3 separate regions of the Homo sapiens genome follow, and all the other regions are linked to region 2. The links are contacts of gene promoters, found by promoter capture Hi-C in human tissues and cell types (Jung and others, 2019). All regions are on one chromosome and are shown on one strand. The core of a region is centred on a gene start or on the middle of the fragment in contact, and the rest is flanking DNA. Distances in the headings are between cores, read along the strand shown. Region 1 has its middle 80 kb from the start of SEPHS1. Region 2 holds the start of PRPF18 (pre-mRNA processing factor 18). Region 3 overlaps FRMD4A (FERM domain containing 4A).

What was found. The method cuts DNA at HindIII sites, captures the fragments that hold promoters and counts their contacts. A contact is called where the count stands out against the background at its distance.
Region 1: a contact is called between a fragment that was not itself captured here and the fragment with the promoter of PRPF18 in region 2, in 1 of the 25 tissues and cell types used here (thymus).
Region 3: a fragment that was not itself captured here is called in contact with the fragment with the promoter of PRPF18 in region 2 in 1 of the 25 tissues and cell types used here (aorta).

What each region holds. Positions count from the first base shown.
Region 1 is chr10:13,426,414-13,430,783 of GRCh38, forward strand. No RefSeq gene overlaps it. Among named protein-coding and RNA genes, the nearest start is that of SEPHS1, 80 kb to the left of the region's middle. The HindIII fragment of the contact is 5,427 bases long and covers 1-4,370 here.
Region 2 is chr10:13,585,347-13,589,965 of GRCh38, forward strand. PRPF18 (pre-mRNA processing factor 18) reads left to right here and starts at 1,619. Exons shown (of 10, transcript NM_003675.4): 1 at 1,619-1,806. The coding sequence starts at 1,741. RefSeq lists enhancers at 1,574-1,913, 2,089-2,684. The HindIII fragment of the contact is 7,227 bases long and covers 1-4,005 here.
Region 3 is chr10:13,739,552-13,744,230 of GRCh38, forward strand. FRMD4A (FERM domain containing 4A) reads right to left here. Exons shown (of 25, transcript NM_018027.5): 10 at 961-1,026; 11 at 643-700. Among named protein-coding and RNA genes, the nearest start is that of PRPF18, 150 kb to the left of the region's middle. RefSeq lists a silencer at 818-1,112 and an enhancer at 3,736-3,975. The HindIII fragment of the contact is 3,959 bases long and covers 373-4,331 here.

The sequences.
Region 1 (4,370 bases), core at 759-3,258, 160 kb before region 2:
ACAAGTCTGTAGTTACCAAAACAGCATAGTACAGGTATAAAAGTAGATACATAGACCAATGGAACAGAATGGGAAACCCATAAATAAAGTCAAATACTTACAACCAACTGATCTTCAACAAATCATACAAAAACATAAATTGAAGAAAGGACACTCTATTCAATAAATGATGCTGGGAAAACTTGATAGCCACATGTAGAAGAATAAAGCCAGATCTCTATCTCTCACCATATAAAAAATCAACTCAAGATGGGTTAAAGACTTGAACCTAAGACCTGAAACTACAAAAATTCTAGGAAAAAACCTAGGAAAAACTATTCTGGACATTGGCCTAGGCAAAGAATTTGTGCCTAAGTTCCCAAAAGCAAATGCAATAAAAACAAAAATAAATACATGGGACCTAATTAAACTAAAAACCTTCAGCACAGCAAAAGAAATAATCACCAGAGTAAACAGACAATTCACAGAATGGGAGAAAATATTTGCAAACTATATATCTGACAGAAAACTAGTATCCAGAATCTACAAGGAGCTCAAACAAAGCAGCAAGAAAAAAACCAAATCATCCCATCAAAAAGTAGGTAAATGACATGAATAGACATTTCTCAAAAGAAGATATACAAATGCCCAACAACGAAAAAATGCTCAACATCACTAATCATCAGGGAGATGCAAATTGAAACCACAGTGAGATACCTCCTTACCCAACCAGAATATCCATTATTAAAAAGTCAAAAAGCAATAGATGGTGTGGATGTAGTTAAAAGGGAATGGTTATATCCCGCTGGTGGGAATGTAAATTAGTACAACCTCTGTGGAAAACAGTATAGAGATTTCTGAAAGAACTACAAGCAGATGAACCATTTGATCCGGCAATCCCACTACTGGGTATCAACCTAAAGGAAAAGAAGTCATTATATCAGGAAGACAACAGTATGCATATGTTTATTGTAGTACAATTCACAATTGCAAAGATATGGAATCAACCTAAGTGCCCATCAAGAGATGAGTGGATAAAGAAAATGTAATATACATATACCATAGAATACTACTAAGCAATAAAAAAGAAAGAAAGAATGTCTTTTGCAGCAACTTGGATAGAGCTGAAGGTCATTATTCCAAGTGAAGGAACTTGGGAATGAAAAACCAAATACCACATGTTGTCACTCATAAGTGGAAGCTAAGCTATGGGTATGCAAAGGCATATGCAAAGATATAATGGACATCGAAGACTCAGAAAGAGGGGGTGGGAGGGGGTGAGGGATTGAAAAACTACATATTGGGTACAGTGTACACTACTTGGGTGATGGGTACTAAAATCTCAGACTTGACCACTGTACAATTCATCTATGTAACCAAAAACTACTTGTACCCCTAAAGCTACTGAAATAAAAAAGAAATGCAAATTAAAACCACAATGAGCTGTCACCTCACACCTGTTAGGATGGCTATCATCAAAAAGATCAAAGATAACAAGTGTAGCCAAGGATGCGGAGAAAAGGCAACCCTTGTCCACTGTTGGTGGGAATGTAAATTGGTACAGCCGCTATGGATAACAGTGAGAGGTGAAGCCAGCTGGACTTCCTGGGTGGAGTGGGGACTTGGGGAACTTTCTGTCTTACAAGAGGACTGTAAAACGCACCAATCAGGAACTTTTCTGTCTTACAAGAGGATTGTAAAACGCACCAATCAGCACTCTGTAAAACGCACCAATCAGCACTCTGTAAAATGCACCGATCAGCAGGATTCTAAAAGTAGCCAATTGCGGGGAGGATTGAACAAAGGGCACTCTGATAGGACAGAAAGGGAACATGGGTGGGGACAATAAGGGGAATAAACGCTGGCCACCCCAGCCAGCAGGCAACAACCTTCTGGGGTCCGCTTCCATGCTGTGGAAGCTTTGTCCTTTCACTCTTCACAATAAAACTTGCTACCATTCATTCTTTGGGTCTGTGCCATCTTTAAGAGCTGTAACACTCACCACGAAGGTCCACAGCTCAATTCTTGAAGTCAGCGAGACCACGAACCCACCGACAGGAACCAACTCCAGACACCCCAGTATGGAAGATCCCCCAAAACCTAAAAATAGAACATGATCCAGCAATTCCACTACTGGGTACATATCCAAAGGAATTAAAATCAGTCTGTTGAAGAGATACCTGCACTCTCATATTCATGGCAGCACTATTCACAGCAGCCAAGATGGGAAATCAAGCTAAGTGTCCATCAATGGATAAAGAAAATTTGGTCTATATACACAATGGGGGCATATTCAGCTATTAAAAAGGAAATCCTGTGATTTGTGACAACACAGATGAGTCTGGAGGACACTATGCCAAATAAAATAAACCAGGTACAGAAAGGCAAATACTCTGTGACCTCACTTTTTTTTTTTTTTTTTTTTTTTTTGAGATAGAGTTTCGCTCATCACCCAGGCTGGAGTGCAATGGCAAGACCTCAGCTCACTGCAACCTCCGCCTCCTGGGTTCAAGCGATTGTCCTGGGTCAGCCTCCTGAGTAGCTGGGATTATAGGCATGTGCCACCATGCCCGGCTAATTTTTGTATTTTTAGTGGAGACGGGGTTTCACCATGTTGGCCAGGCTAATCTCGAACTCCTGACCTCAGGTGATCCACCCGCTTTGGCCTCCCAAAGTGCTGGGATTACAGGTGTGAGCCACCTTGCCCGGCCCTGTGTGACCTCACTTCTATGTGGAACCTAAAAATGTTGAATCCTTAGATGTGGAGTAAAATGGTGGTTACCAGGGGCTGGGAGTGGGGGATGGTGGAGTGGGGAGGGAATCAGGTGTTGGTCGAAAGATACGAAGTTGCAGTTACATAGAAAGAATAAGTTTTTGAGATCTATTGCACAGCATGGTGACTGTAGTTAAAGTATAGTATATTTCAAAATTGTTAAGAGAATGTATTTCAAATGTTCTCATCACAGAAAATGATGTGTGTGAGGTGATGAATAGGTAAATTAGCTAGATTTGATCGTTCCGTAATGTACACATATATCAAAGTGTCGCATCATACCCCATAGTTATATACAATTGTTATTTGTCAATTAAATATAAAAAATGTAAAAATATATATTTTAAAAAGATGCTCAGCATTATTAATCACCAGAGAGATGCAAATCACAACCACAGTGAGGTACCACTTCACACTCACTAGGATGGCTATAAGAAAACAAACAATCACAAGTATTAGCAAGTGTGTGGAGACATCAGATCCCTCATACATTGCTGGTAGGAATGTAAAATGGTTCAGATTCTTTGGGAAACAGGTATTTCCCCAAAAAGTTCAATATAGGCCAGGCGTGGTGGCCCACACCTGTGATCCCAGCACTTTGGGAAGCTGAGGCAGGAGGGTGGTCTGAGCCCAGGGGTTTGAGACTAGCCTGGGCAATATAGTCAGACTCAGCCTCTAAAAAAGAAAAAGTTAGCCAGGTGTGGTGTAGTCCCAGCTACTCTGGAGGTTAAGGTGGGAGGATTGCTTGAACCCAGGTGGTTGAGGCTGCAGTGAGGTATGATGGTGCCACTGCATTCCAGCCTGGGTGACAGAGCAAGACCCTGTCTCAAAAAAAAAAAAAAAATTTCAACATAGAGTTACCATATGACCCAGCAATCCCACACCTACCCATATACCCAAGAGAATTGAACATATATGTCTGCACAAAGACTGGTACACAAATGTTTAGAGCAGCATTATTTATAATAGCCCCAAAGTGGAAATAACTCAAAGGTCTATCACTGATAAATGGATAAATAAAATGCAGTCTGTCCATGTAATGGAATATTATTTGGCAATAAGAAGCAATGAAGTGCTGATACCTGCTGTAACATGGGTGAACCCTGAAAACATGCTGAGTGAAAGAGACCAGTCGCACAAGACCACACATTGTATGATTCCATTTATATGAAATGTCCAGAAGAGACCAATCCAAAGGGAGAGAAAGTAATTTGTGGTTGCCTCGGGCTGGGAACGGAGCAATGTTGGTGAGTGACTGCTCAGGGGAGCAGGGTTTCTTCTTGGGGTTAAGAGAATGTTCTGGAATTAGAAGGTGATGGTGGTTGTGCAACTTTGTGAATCAATTAAAAACCAGTGAATTGCATGGCTTAAAGTGGTGAATTTTATGGTATGTGAATTATATCTGAAAAAAGTCAATGAATGCTTAATGCAGAAAATAAGAAAAGAAGGAAACAGAAATTGCAGTTGCAGCATCTGGAGATAATCACTGCAAATGTTTTGATGTAGATTTCCAGACTCTTATGTAAATCTATACATCTTTGGAAAATAAAGTGGGATCATGTAGCCCATATACTTTAGCAAAAATTTTGTTTTTATATTACTAGTACTTTTCCTTTGC
Region 2 (4,619 bases), core at 369-2,868:
TTCTCTCTATCACTCTTTGATCTCAGGCCTTAATCAGGATTCAGTGCACATGTTTACATAAACGTAGAAATCAATGAAAGTCTAAAATGTAAGGGGAGGCTGTTAACTGTAGCTAGTAACTTCTCTGGTTTACACTGACAGTTTCCCAGGTAGCCAGCCGTTGTGTTCTCTGTAAACTTCCATTGCTGTTACTGTCATCTGTCTTAACCCTTCAGGTTTTTTTTGTGTCTAACAATCCCTAATCCCTAAATCAGGAAAATGCTAATAAATTATTATTTGCTCATTGATTAGTGAGGGAAACCCATATTCATGCAAGAGTGTTGCCATATTTAGTTCAAGGACATTTTCCTGTGTTGGCTTATTTCTGGCAAAAGTCAGGTATATTTTATTTTATTTTGTTTTGTTTTTGAGACAAAGTCTTGCTCTATCACCCAGGCTGGACTGCAGTGGCATGATCCCGGCTCACTGCAACCTCCATCTCCCGGATTCAAGCAATTCTCCTGTCTCAGCCTCCTGAGTAGCTAGGACTATAGGCACCTGCCACCACGCCTGGCTAATTTTTGTATTTTTAGTAGAGACGGGATTTCACCATGCTGGCCAGGCTGGTCTTGAACTCCTGACCTCAGGTGATCTGTCCACCTCGGCCTCCCAAAGTTCTGGGATTACAGGGGTGAGCCACCCCGTCTGGCCTCAGATATCTTTTAGATGAAGTATCACCCCCCACAAAAGACTTTCTAAATTGAAATAATTCAATTGTTCATTTTTTTGTTTTGTAAAGCATTTTACCCATTATCAGCTGACTCAACAAAATGATATTTCTTACCTTTTTTGAGTAAGAAAAACGAAATGTCAAATATTGTTCAATTATGATTTCACAAAAACAATTTTTAAACGTGCTTCAATGACATGAAAAAAATAAGTCCACTGTAAACAAATGTTAGGGACTTAAAAAATCTCTGACATAATTTTTCTCTTCAATTTAACTTTTTTTCCCTTGGGTTGGATTTAAAAAAAAAAAAGGAATTTCTGATTACATCTCCAATCATGTCACTGAAAAATCTTGATTGCTGAACACATGACCAAAAAATGATTAGTTAGCTTGAGGTAAATGTTCAATTATCACCAAGATTGGTAAGCAATCTAAAACAGAGGGAGTGAAGATAAATTGACTTCCAAACTGCTTTAAATGGTTGTAGTCGTTTAAGTTCACAGGAAATTTAACAGGCTAGTAATGAACAGACAGCCCTTTCACTCTATTGTTACAAGTTAGTATTATTGTTTAGATTTTTCTCATCCTTTTGCAAATTTTGCAAGCAAGTAACTTCAGAAACCCTAATGTAAATTTCCAGTTAATAAAGATCTTGATTTAACTGGCATTATTGAGGTGTTCTTCGAGAGGCTTTTGGAACTCAACTAGCAGGTGCAGAGAGTACTACAAAGACCCGGGTTTCCGTCCACGTTCACGTAAACCTCCCTACGAGGGGAAACTACAGGCGCGCTGCCGGAGGGCGCCGCCAGTGGGCACTCACGCACAGCTGCTTTGGCCACCACAGGCGCCCCGGGCCACTCTCTTCCCTCATCTCTCTCATCCCAGCTTCCGCCGGAAGCGGCTCCTGTCAGTTGTTCTCAGGTGTTTGGGCTTGTTGTTCCGTATACTCAGTGGGTTCGCGGCCGCCGGCCCAGTGAGGCTGGGTTCGAGGAGCTGGAGCGGGAAACTGGAGCTTAAATTCTGGCGGCGAGATGGACATTCTGAAATCAGAGATCCTTCGGAAGCGGCAGCTGGTGGAGGACAGGAACCTGCTGGTGGTGAGGACCCTGCGGTCGTGGGGGTCGGGATGTAAGAGTGAGAGTATGTGTGTCGGGGTTTTGGGGTGAGGGTGACGATACTCAGAGGATTCGGGGCGGGGACGGGGCTTAGCGAGTGTCCTGCCACTACCCCTGGTAGGCCCCCTTAGATCCAACCCTTGGCGTCTCACTGTTGAGGCTGGAGAATAGGGTCTGAGAGCAGGGAACTTGAGTACAATTCGTGCTGACTTCCCAAAGCTGGATCAAAAGGAAAACACCTGGGTCTGGGGGCGGGAACCTGAGGCCAATTAACGCCCACGTCCAAAAGCCAAACCAAAAGAAAAATCCTCATCTTCCCACCACCGAGTAGCAAAGGCTTCAGGCTGCGGCTCTCCCCGCATCCCTGCCTTTCCACCACCTCTCAGATGGGAAGGGAACGTGCCCTGCATTGGCCGTGGGCCAATCACGGGCCATCCCTTCATCTGCATAGGGCGCCAGTTCACCTCAGTCTTTAGCCACAGACCGAACCCTTCATCCAGATACGGGGTAGCTGATAGGGACCTCAGAAGGAGTACCTAAAACCCGGAAAACTTTGTAACCGGGGCCTCGAGCCGCTTGCTCGGGCCCACTCACACCCTGTGGAGTGCTTTCTCGCGTTCATAAGTCCCTACTTTTGCTGCTTCATTCCTGTGTTTTGTTACTTTTTTTGTGCGTTTTGTCCAATTCTTTGTTCAAAACGCCAAGGACCCGGGCAACTTACACTCACGGCCTTCTTTCCGGTAACCACTTGGGAGCCTTAGGGATGCAGGTGTGGGAATTGCAGGAAAACCCGAGGCTTTGTTTGTTTTCCCCCGACTGACCCTGTTTCCCTCCAGTTTACCTAACTGCCCCCTATCCCCGCTCCTACCTGTTGGCATTCTGCGGACGTGCCCCAGTGCTCCTGAGAGTTCCCTTCTGTCGCCTTACGAAGGGTTTGTGCCCAACTGAAACATGGAGGAAGGGCCGCCGGGCGCGGTGGCTCACACCTGTAATCCCCACACTTTGGTGGGCAGATCACCTGAGGTCAGGAGTTCGAGACCAGCCTGGCAAACATGGTGAAACCCCGTCTCTACTAAAAACACCAAAATTAGCTGGGCGTGGTGGTGCGCGCCTGTAATCCCAGCTACTCAGGAGGCTGAGGCCAGAGAATCACTTGAACCCGGGAGGCGGAGGTTGCCGTGAGCCGACATCGCACCACTGCACTCCTGCCTGGGCGACAGAGTGAGACACCGTCTCAAAAAAAAAAAAAAATTCCTTCTAGCCAGGTGTGGTGGTGCGCGCGTCTAGTCCCGGCTGCTTGGGAGACCAAGGCGGGAGGATCGCTTGAGCCCAGGAGTTCAGGCTGCAGTGAGCTATCATCGTGCCACTGCACTCCAGCCTGGGTGAGAGACCGAGTCCCTGTCTCTAAAAAAAAAAAAAAAAAAGTAATAAAATTCCTTTCTAATAGTAAATCCCAATTTTTTAAATTCTATTCCTCCTCCTTCTCTCTTCTTCAACACATGAAAAGTCTGTAGGCCTGCTCTTCACTGATGGGAATGCTAAGACTCTTTTGGAAAGGTACTAAAAAGGGGGAGAAAGAATTACATGATTTAGGAACTTCCTGAAGATGATCTCCCTTACTTTATTGTGTAGCAGTAACTTAGACCGCTGGTTCTCAAAGCTTTTGGTCTCAGGACCCCTTCACACTCTTAAAAGTTACTGAAGATCTTGAAGGACTTTTGTTTATGTGTTATTTCTATCCGTATTTACCATATTAGAAGTTAAAACTGAGAAACGTTAAAAATACTCACTGATCGATCATTTGGAAAACATTGGGTTACTGAATTATGCAGGTCTCCCACCTGTTGACACATTTCATTACAAAATATGAAAAGATCACTTCATTTAATATCCACTGATCTGAGAAACATCTGTAAGCATTAGGAAACTGTCAGGCTCCTGATGACAGATCTAAGTTCACCACACTTAATTTCCACTTGGAAGCTGGAATTTTATCATAGGCAACAAATATTATCAGTTATTTTCTTGAAGTGATCTGCTCACTTTGTTCAGTTTGGGGAAGTTGTCTGCCAAATACCCAAGTCTGAAGAACCATGGTTTGCCGGGTGTTCTTAAGTGTAAAAATGGTATTCCGTGAAAAAGCCAGTTTAGCTTGCAACTCAATTACTTTCCTCCACACAACCAGCAAACTTTAGTATAAATGAGAATTGTTGTATGCATCTTTCCTGTTTTGTCACATAATATTAAAAAGATATGGCCAAAGATCAAGACTTAATAAAAATAGTAATTTTACTCCTTTATCATAAGGAGTAAATTTGTTTAGAGAAACTGGCTCCCTCTGGCTGCAGTGGCAGTTTAGAGTCACTGCCTTGGTTCTTGCTAAGGCTTTAGCAAATTTACCATTGCTTTTCACCTACAGTGCAGATGTCATCAGAGTGAGCAGGCAGATAATGCCTTACTGTAGAAAACACTTTTGACCTCATGAGTCCTCTCAGAGGGTCTACAGGACCCATGGAAATCCGTGCATCACAGAATATCTGACTTAGATATTTGGATGTTGTGTACGATTGATGTATGTGATGTAGTGTAAGTAAGTTAGAGTTCTTAGCTTGGTAAATGGCAAATTTCATGATCATTGAAACTTTAAAAACAATTAGAAAAGTGGAGGTAATAGAATGCTGTTTGGTAGGTATGGGGAAAAGCTTGTTCATATTTGTAAATGTTTTTATGTCTACTGCAGGGACCTTTTGATGAGTGGTTGGGAGTATTTTAAATTTAGGTGTTGGAGTGCATAG
Region 3 (4,679 bases), core at 1,102-3,601, 150 kb after region 2:
AATCACAAGCCCTGCTTTTGATCTTTACCAAACTGAAATAAAGAGCACAGTTTTGAAGTTTTCTTGGAAGGCAGAAAGCATATATATCAGAGGCAGCCTTTCTGTTAAGTTCTAGGGCTGACAAAGAAATGGACCACAGGTTGAAGCAAGTTAACTGGATGAAGTTTTCTGTATTTGAAATTGTCTCCCCGCAGTGTGCAATCTTCCTGACCAAGTCCTCCACAACCTCCATTCCCACCAGGAATTATAAAGAAAAAAACAATGAGGGCCAGGCGCGGTGGCTCACGCCTATAATCCCAGCACTTTGGGAGGCCGAGGCAGGCAGATCACCTGAGGTCAGGAGTTCCAGACCAGCCTGGCCAACATGGCAAAACCTCGTCTCTACTAAAAATACAAAAATTAGCTGGGTGTGGTGGCGCATGCCTGTAATCCCAGCTACTCAGGAGGCTGAGGTAGGAGAATCGCTTGAACCCGGGAGGTGGAGGTTGCAGTGAGCCAAGATCGCACCCTGCACACCAGCCTGGGAGACAAAGCAAGACTCTATCTCAAAAGAAAAAGAAAAAGAAGAAAACATATAACGAGATGTTTTGATTTGTTTGCTTAGGGGAGGTTTGGTAACCTTCACCAAATGAGTCTACTCACCTTCACTGCATAATAGTGAACCCCGTAGGTTGGGAGAGACTCCACGATGCTCATGTAGCTGGAATGACAACACGAAGATACACAAACACACACACAATGCGCAAAAGGCTAGTTATTCAGCAGATCTGGTATCATATATATATTTGTGTATGTGTACGTGATAAAGTTCTCGGAGTGATTATTTACTTGAAAATTAAATGGAAACATACACCCCCCACTCCCAGATATGTCTTTGGAGAGGAACTGAACAATCCTGACATACGATATATTAACACACACAAACACTGTCCCCATGTGAGCTGGGAAGGGGCCACTTACTTTACGATTGCTTGACCTCTTGTCTGACCGTTCAGTTTCTTGTAGTGCTCAATGACTCTGTCTTCACTGTAATTAGAAGAAAAGAATGCTGTTGTTGGAGTCTCTAGGTCAACAGCCAAGCTTCCTGCCAGTAAGATATTTCTCAGCCCCATCTCATAAGAAGCTCCAAGGCACCAACAGCTCCTGGAAAAATGATTTGTCCTGGAGTGGTATTTCCAAACTCGGTCTGAGTGCTATCTATTTGGATGTAGATTTACTTTAAAAAGAGTCTGTTTTCCCCACAAAGGACTTGCATTCTCTTTGTCTTGGATGTTTGTTTTTTTTTTTTTTTTTGAGACGGAGTCTTGCTCTGTCACCCAGGCTAGAGTGCAATGGTGCGATCTTGGTTCACTGCAACCTCCACCTCCCGAGTTCAAGCAATTCTTGTGCCTCAGCCTCCAGAGTAGCTGGGACTACAGGTGCGTGCCACCACACCTGACTGATTTTTGTATTTTTAGTAGAGACAGGGTTTCATCATGTTGGCCAGGCTGGTCTCAAACTCTTAACCTCAAGTGATCCACCCACCTTGGCCTCCCAAAGTACTGGGATTACAGGCGTGAGCCACCATGGCTGGCTTATCTTGGATTTCTAATCAAGAAATATAAGACTGGAGCCCAGGCCGGGTGCAGTGGCTCACCCCTGTAATCCCAGTGTTTAGGGAGGCTGACATGGGGGGATTGCTTGAGCCCAGGAGTTTGAGACCAGCCTGGGCAACACAGTGAGACCTTGTCTCTATACAAAAATACAAAAATTAGCCAGGCATGGTGGGGTATGCCTGCAGTCCCAGCTACTTGGGAGGCTGAGGTGGGAGGATTGCTTGAGCCCAGGAGGTCAAGGCTGCAGTGAGCTACAATTGCACCACTGCATTCCAGCCTGGGTGACAGAGTGAGACCCTGGCTCAAAAACAAAAAACAAAAGAACAAAAAGACTGGAGCCCAGGTTTTGGGATCAGCTCCTTGGAAGAAATGGTACCGTGGGAACAAGAGGAAGCAGACAGCAGAGATGACGCATGAATGCCCGGGCTGAGCTCCCTGGGGCCCTTCTTATCCTCATCTTCCCAGTCCTGTTCACACAGGGCCTCATGGGGGAATGGCAGGCATTGACCTTAACCAAGTGCCCACAGCCTACCTGCTCTGAATGCGTAGTCAGGAATGGAAGGCTTTCCAGGAGGATGGAATGTTCTGGAATTTGGGCTTGGTTAATATGAACCATGAAGCAACAAAAGCCCCATAGGAATGCTTGGAGAACAACAGCAAACCAGCTACCAGAATTAGACAGGCGCTCCCTCCTTTTTTGAAATCTTAGGTGTTTTTGTTTTTGTTTTTGAGACGCAGTCTCCCTTGTCACTCAGGCTGGAGTGCTGTGGAGCGATCTTGGCTCACCGCAACCTCTGCCTCCCAGTTTAAAGCAATTCTTGTGCCTCAGCCTCCTGAGTAGCTGGGATTACAGGTGTGTGTCACCACACCTTGCTAATTTTTGTATTTTTAGTAGAGATGGGGTTTTGCATGTTGGCCAGGCTGGTCTCAAACTCCGGGCCTCAGGTCATCTGCCCACCCCTGCCTCCCAAAGTGCTGGGATTACAGGCGTGAGCCACCGCGCCCAGCTGAAATCCTAGTTCTAATATAACAAGAGGTTAGCTGGCTCCTTGGCAGCAGTGGCAAGCCCGCCTCCTGAGAAGTGACTCTGGTGCCCATGAGGTAGGAGATACGGCCGCTCCCACCCCCGCTTTCGGAAGGGCAGAGCCAACCTGGGGAATCCCAGGGAAGCAGGTGCAGGCAGAAAGCCCCAACCCCACCTGCTGAGGTGTGGAGTCGACACCTCGGTCTCCCTGGTCTGGCCCCAGAGCCTTGGAACCTCAGTTCTCACTCTCAGGTCTTACTCCTCTTCACCCTCCCTGTCCTCTGTCAAAGCTCTGTGAGGGGAGCTGATTCTAGGGGTGTACCCTCGAGATCTCAATAGAGGATCTTTATTATCTATTATTTTTGAGACAAGGTTTTGCTCTCTCGCCCAGACTGGAGTGCAGTGGTATGATCCTGACTCACTGCAACCTCCATCTCCCAAGTTCAAGCAATTATCCTGCCTCAGTCTTCCGAATAGCTGGGATTATAGGTGTGCACCACCACGCCTGGCTAATTTTTGTATTTTTAGTAGAGATGAGGTTTCACCACATTGACCAGGCTGGTCTCAAACTCCTGACCTCAAATAATCTGCCCATCTCAGCCTCCTGAAATGCTGGGATTACAGGTGTGAGTCACTATACCCGGCCCTATTATCTATTATCCATCAGCCCAGGATCTACCTAAAGCCTTCTTTTACCCACCTTTTTGTTTTCAGTTTTAGCAAGGCCAGTGTTGGGGGTAACAGGTTCTACACATTCATCACCTAGTCCTTGGGGGTAATTTATTTCTCTTCCAATGACTACCTTAACCTCCAACTAGTATCTTTTAATTTTAATACTCTGGAATTTGATGCATAGAGGACAGTGAGAGGTCTTGATAAAGAAGGGTCTTTATAAATACCCAGAATGAGGACCAGCCAGCTACAGGGGGCCTTGCCTCAGTTGGAGAGTCACTTCTGTGGGGTCTGGATATCCTCTATTCAGAAAGGGGCAGACCCAGCCATCTCTCTCCTTGGCTCCCACATGCCGAGGAAGTTCTATATCAAGTGTGACAAGGTCGTCTCCTGAAGACGATTCTCGAAAAGCATGCTCCCCAAGGGCAGGCCCAGCCTCACTAATCCTGCAGAACTGCGTCAGGAGGTTCAGCGGCTCCACTTCCTTCCATCCCACTCACTAAATCAACAGCTGCCTTGGCGTGTTTCCTACCACGTGACATGGGGTTTTGTGAAGTCGACTCCTAGATCCAGGGTCAAGCAACTCAGTGTAGATAGGGACCTTTTTCCTTTGCAGCACTAGGGAGAGAGGGTCCCTGGGGTGAGTTCAGGAGGTGCAAGTCAACATAGCACTGTAGCCATGAACACACAGAAGGCTCAGGAGAAACACCAGTGAAAGAAAGTCAAAACCACTGTCAGAAAGCCGCGTCGCTGTTTAACCACGACATGTCCTGACCACAGGGTTCTGGGTGGCCGACAGCAGCAGAAATCTTTGCCGCCCCCTGTTTGCCCTGTAACTCCTGCTCTCTGAGGCCATCTGTGAAGCCACAATAATTGCCTTCTCCATCCTCAGCTTTTCCTGCTTGTTTTGCCCCCTTAAACATGGTGGGCTTATCCTGGAAGAACAGGCTCAATCCTGACCGAGAACCTATTCTGCTCCCAGCCTGTCCCCACCTCTGCTCTGGAACTTGCCAGAGGGCTGAAGTGCTCTGAGCTTTGCAGACAATTTTCCCATACCCTAGATTTGTAGCAGGGACTCAAGGGGATAACTAGCAGAAATCCAGGAAGCAGAGTAAGTGCTGCCTGGAGGACACAGGGTTACATGGAGGAAAAAGGCAAATGATCAAAGCTGCCTGTGCCCAGGTCGCTGGCTGGGTCATGTTGTTAAGTCAAATGACCTCTCAGCAGACAAGGGGATACATGAAATGCATGGGTGATGGAAGGGGAAACAGGGATGGTGATATGATATGGTTCCCCGTCTTGGAGCAGCTGCTGGCCTGCTGTGCTCAGTGGTTTCGGGGTTAAAAATAGATGTCCCTGCATACCTTATTGAGGCGATAGGGGTGGTC